2 separate regions of the Homo sapiens genome follow, and region 1 is linked to region 2. Evidence: promoter capture Hi-C in 16 types of primary human blood cells and fetal thymus (Javierre and others, 2016). All regions are on one chromosome and are shown on one strand. The core of a region is centred on a gene start or on the middle of the fragment in contact, and the rest is flanking DNA. Distances in the headings are between cores, read along the strand shown.

Region 1 (2,700 bases), core at 91-2,590, 2.4 Mb after region 2:
TCTGCTCCCCGCGCCTGCGCAGAGTGCAGGGCCACGTCGCTTTTGCTGTACCGGGGACCACGCGTCTCATCCATGGCTTCCGCGGACTCGCGCCGGGTGGCAGATGGCGGCGGTGCCGGGGGCACCTTCCAGCCCTACCTAGACACCTTGCGGCAGGAGCTGCAGCAGACGGACCCAACGCTGTTGTCAGTAGTGGTGGCGGTTCTTGCGGTGCTGCTGACGCTAGGTAAAAGGCGGCCGGTGGTCATGGCGGGTTTGGGGCGGGCAGAGGTCCGGGCTTTGGCTGCACCGCTGCAGGCCGGGGACGCGGGGCTGAGAGGGCGCCTTGAGGGCATCAGGAGGGTGAGACCCACCCAGTCTACACCCCACCCTCTCTCCTGAAGCAGCGGCAGCAGCTGGGCGTTAAGGGGGATGCCGGGCAACCCCCGGAGTTAACGTCCTGGTCCTTGGGGCGCAGATTGCTCTTCGTCATCTGCCCTGTTACGCTTGAGCGCGCTGTTCCTCGCCTTCCGCTGTTCTCACTGCAAAGACTCAGGGTCTTGACACCAACTTTCAGCCTCCCGTGTTTGCGTGCGGGCGCTGGGATACCAAGGTAGTGAGATAGCACCTGAGTCCCAGTCAGAGTAAGGACTGCAAAGAAAAGTTGACAGTTGACAGTGCCTGGCTCTCAGTGGATCCCTAACAACAGCAATAGTAACCATTATGATAAAAGTCAGTTCCAGGTGAATGAGGTGTTTCGTCACAGACTTCTGTGAATTTCCCCACCCCAGCCATGCACATATACTGATTCCCAAGGCGTAATTTTTGTTGTTTTTCTCTGTCTATTCCACAGTCTTCTGGAAGTTAATCCGGAGCAGAAGGAGCAGTCAGAGAGCTGTTCTTCTTGTTGGCCTTTGTGATTCCGGGAAAACGTTGCTCTTTGTCAGGGTAAATGATTTCATTGACACCCCTGTTAAGCTTAATAGAAAATTTTATAGATCCCAGTATTCCTGTCATCTCACGGTTTATTTTGTAAAAGAAGCTGATGCTGTTAAATTTGGAAGTTAATTCTTGACTTACTTGGGAGAACAAAAAGACTCGTAGAAACCCATAATTGAGAAATATTGGTCATTTCTCCTTTTTTTTTTCTGTTTGCCCTTGCCAGATGCTGATATTTAGTCTTTATCACATTCAAGGATTTTATTTAATTAGTTTCATTCCAGAATAGCAGAAGGCATAGAAGCTAGTGTCCTACAGTTTATAATTCCTTCGTTAACAAATTCTTAGGACAGTTTATCGAAGACACTTTTTCACAGGGTGATCCTTCTTTGACATAGTGGGCTAGTTAGGCTTCTTTTTACTAATATTTATTTTTAATACATTTAGTATTTTTAACAGTGTATTTTAATGTGGTGAATAGGAGAGGTTTTCTGCTTTTTAACTCTTCTTTTTGAGAGTATAAATTATTTCCCTTCCATTAAAGAAATACCTCCATTTTTTTTTTTTTTTTTTTTTTGAGGGAGTGTCTCACTCCAATGCCCAGGCTGGAGTGCAGTGGCGAGATCTCTGCTCATTGCAGCCTTGACCTCTGGGACTCAGATGATTCTCCCACCTCAGCCTCCGAGTAGCTGGGACTACAGGCGTGCAACACTACGCCCGGCTGATTTTTTATATTTTTTGTAGAGATGAGATTTTGCCATGTTGCCCAGGCTTCAAATCATTTTTGTTGGTTAAAAATCTTTACAGAAGCTTGGCAAATTTGGCCACTAACTGTCTTTTGAGAATAATGTTGTTTTTATTCCACTGAGGAGTAAAATATGCAATTAATTAGATTTTTTTCTACAGGTAAAAAAAATCAATATCGTCTTTTTCACCTGTCGGAAGCAGCATTCATTTACTTAACCTTACACCTGGGAGACTTAGAATAATATAACTCAATTTAGGTGTGCTATTAAAATGTTGAATATCACCCATCTTGTTTTTTTTACAGTTGTTAACAGGCCTTTATAGAGACACTCAGACGTCCATTACTGACAGCTGTGCTGTATACAGAGTCAACAATAACAGGGTAAGATGTTTGTGGAGTTTTGGAGTCTGACAGTCTTACTTTACTGTGGTGTGTCAGTTAAGGACATTTTTAGGATGAGTTCATCTGAGGATGTAAGTACCATTTGTAGCTTATTTTTATGGAGAAACATATTCTTTGTGACAAATTCTCTTGACAATCTGTACAGTAGATTTAATCATGCCCTCCTCTGCATTGTTGTACCTTAATGTACAGTAATGTTATATCACATTTTATTCTTATTTTTTGTTTCTGTGTCTTCTTTCCAACTTTACAATGAGTTCTTAAGAGTGGGCATTAAACCTTTTAAGTTTTGAATAGGTAATACATGCACATGGGACAAAAATTCAAAAGGTTAGAAAAGATATTTGGTGAAAAGTAATTTTTCCTTTCCTTTCCCCACTACCTAGTTTTCTCCTCAGAAGCAGTGACTTACTTTTTTTTGTATGTAGTCTTCCGGATGTTCTGTGCATATACAAACATGTCTGTATATCCTTTATTGTTGTTTTTTTTTAAATGCTGTTCTGCCCATTATTTTTCTCATACGGCTGATACAACTTGGGCTTTTCTTATTGTCCTACATTTGTATACATAGTACCATCTGGTTGGTTTATGAGCTGCATAGTACTCCACTCTGTTGCTATACCATAAAATTA
Region 2 (2,700 bases), core at 165-2,664:
GTGCCTAACATATCTCAACATCCCTAATAGGTTGGTATCATCTCCACTTAACAGATGAGCTGCTGGGATCTGAGAGAGTTAAGTGACTTGTTAAGGTCACAAACCTGTTTCTGGGTGGGTCCGGACTCTTTCCCACCATATGCCGTCACTTACAGGCTGTGAGTTTATGCCCAGCCCCCCTCAAGGAGCTGCCTCCTGCTTTCTATTGCATAATCAATATCGACACCTGGTGTAGGGGCGCTCTGCAGGGTGGGGAAGGCCTGGCCTGGAGTGAGGGATCCTGCATCTCAGCATCAGGCCCTGAGTAGGCCTCTGCCCTTGTGGTAGGGTAACCCACCCTCCTTCATAGCTCAGAGGTCTGAGGGGGTTTGAGGGAAAGACTAGAAAGCCTAGGAGGCTTCTTCTATCTCTCACCCCTCCTCACTCCCAGTCCTGTGCCACAGGATTTCACTCACAGCTCCTTCCACCCCCACCCTTCCCCTGAAAATCTCACTGCCCTGTGACTTCTCTATGTGCCACTCCCTGTGCGTCAGACCCCCACGATCAGCTGCCCACTGCCTATGGCCACCCCAATTCCTTAGAACTACACTTATCACTGCTCACCCTTCTCCTACTCTCCCCCTCTCAGAAAATGACACCACATCCAGGAAACTCGGAACCACCACTAGCCCAGCGCTCCCTCTTCCCCATTCACTCAGTCACCAAGTCCCCTCAATTTCACCACTCAAGATAGTTGTCAGACCATGGCGCCTGTCCATCTCCATTTCCCTAGGATAGGCCTTGGTGTCTGAGGCCAACCCTGCCTCATTTCCTCCTAACCCCCACCCAGGCCTTGTGCTTTGTGTACCACCACACCCAACCAAAGGTAGTTATTACTTCTTTGGCTCCCAGCACTCAACTGAGCGCCCCAGCTCTTCCTCACCTGCCGGGACACTCCAGCTGACTCCAGATTGCGACGCAGGCGTTTACGTACCAGCCTTTCTCCAGGTTCAGGGCGCTGCCACATCTTCAGCCCCGACCCGCCGCAAGTCTCATTTCCTCCTAACCCCAACCCAGGCCTTGTGCTTTGTGTACCACCGAACCCAACCAAAGCTAGTTCCCTGACTTGCTCTTTTGGCTCCCAGGAGCCTTTAGGTACCGGCCTTGCGCCAGGTTTAGGGCGCGGCCACACCTCTAGCCCCGCCCCACCGCAGGCCCAACCCAGAGGCTGCTTTCGGTTACCCTAGGGTTCCTGGGCCCTGGACTTCAACCCGGTCTGCAAGCCCCGCCCTGATTAGCTGCCTCCCGCACCGGTCGCGGCGCCCCGCCCCCAGGCGCCTAGGTTCCTCCCCTTATCCCTGCAGGGATTGGGCCTTGCAGCACCGCCCAGGCTCGGATTGGTCCGAGGTGAGACCCGCCCCTCTGCCCATTGGGCCTTCGGGACAGCAGAGGAGCAGTGTCCGGCCATGGCCGGAGCCCGCAGGCTGGAGCTAGGCGAGGCCCTGGCGCTGGGGTCGGGCTGGCGTCATGCGTGCCACGCTCTCCTCTACGCGCCGGACCCTGGGATGCTCTTCGGCCGCATCCCGCTGCGCTACGCCATACTGGTGAGAAGGGGGCGCGCCCGGCCACTTTCTGCCTGAGCCCCGCACCCTCTCTGGTGGTCTCCTCTGGGGCGCCCCTGCCAATCCCCGCTTCCCCCTCCCGCAGATGCAGATGCGCTTCGATGGACGCCTGGGCTTCCCCGGCGGATTCGTGGACACGCAGGACAGAAGCCTAGAGGACGGGCTGAACCGCGAGCTGCGCGAGGAGCTGGGCGAAGCGGCTGCCGCTTTCCGCGTGGAGCGCACTGACTACCGCAGCTCCCACGTCGGGTCAGGGCCACGCGTTGTGGCCCACTTCTATGCCAAGCGTCTGACGCTCGAGGAGCTGTTGGCTGTGGAGGCCGGCGCAACACGCGCCAAGGACCACGGGCTGGAGGTGGGACCAGCCTGGGACTCTGTCCCTTTCCCAATTTCCTCTTCTCCCAAAGCTTTCTCTCCCCCAAGAAAGCATCCCTGGAGAAAAGTCTTTGCCCCTCTGACCTTGCCCTCTCCCCAGCTTTCTTGGTGGAGTTGGGATCGTGATCATCTATACTCTGAATTAGTACTGCCAACCTGGGCTTTCTGTAAAGGTCTTTCCCACCCTTTACCAGGAGAGATCCTTTCTAGAACACACTCATCCATGTCTCTCTGCTGTTCCCTATTGACAGTGTGATAGATTATCACATTATCTAGGTGTGGCAACCTAGGTTTTATTCTTGGGGTTTGCTTTTCTTGTGTAGGAGATGTGGCCCTGATATTTCAGGCAGGGCTAGTAGATAGATTATGTATGAAGGTGGTTCTCAAAATTTGGCAGGTAGCAGAATCATCGGGGCGTCTTATTAAAATAGCGATTTCTCTCAGCATTCCTGCATTGGTGGTGGGGCGGGGGGAGAGGAAACCTGAGAATTTGTAGTTTTCAAAAGTTCCCAAATAATGCTGATGCAAATAATCTGAGGACCACATTTTGACAACCACTGGTGAAAGGGTATGAATACATCTTTGAGGCAGTAGCCACTAGAGGTTTAGAAGCAGATGTGGGAAAGATTAATTGATAGAGCTAGATAATATGTTTTGGGTCATTTTCCTGCAGAAGGTTGGGCCACTAGGCTTTAGTGAGGTGTGAGCCTTGGGCCTGGTTCTG

The links. The method cuts DNA at HindIII sites, captures the fragments that hold promoters and counts their contacts. A CHiCAGO score of 5 or more calls a contact.
Region 1: a contact is called between a fragment that was not itself captured here and the fragment with the promoter of NUDT16 in region 2, in 1 of 17 cell types (total B cells). The highest score is 5.4, in total B cells.

Annotation. Positions count from the first base shown.
Region 1 is chr3:133,805,777-133,808,476 of GRCh38, forward strand. SRPRB (SRP receptor subunit beta) reads left to right here and starts at 39. Exons shown (of 7, transcript NM_001379313.1): 1 at 39-226; 2 at 833-927; 3 at 1,970-2,047. The coding sequence starts at 73. RefSeq lists enhancers at 91-300, 411-460, 491-600. The HindIII fragment of the contact is 771 bases long and covers 956-1,726 here.
Region 2 is chr3:131,380,360-131,383,059 of GRCh38, forward strand. NUDT16 (nudix hydrolase 16) reads left to right here and starts at 1,415. Exons shown (of 3, transcript NM_152395.3): 1 at 1,415-1,583; 2 at 1,687-1,956. The coding sequence starts at 1,446. It overlaps NUDT16-DT (NUDT16 divergent transcript), which reads right to left and starts at 1,116. Exons shown (of 4, transcript NR_038976.1): 1 at 974-1,116. RefSeq lists enhancers at 724-993, 1,285-1,854, 1,855-2,423 and a silencer at 1,104-1,403. The HindIII fragment of the contact is 2,474 bases long and covers 1-2,006 here.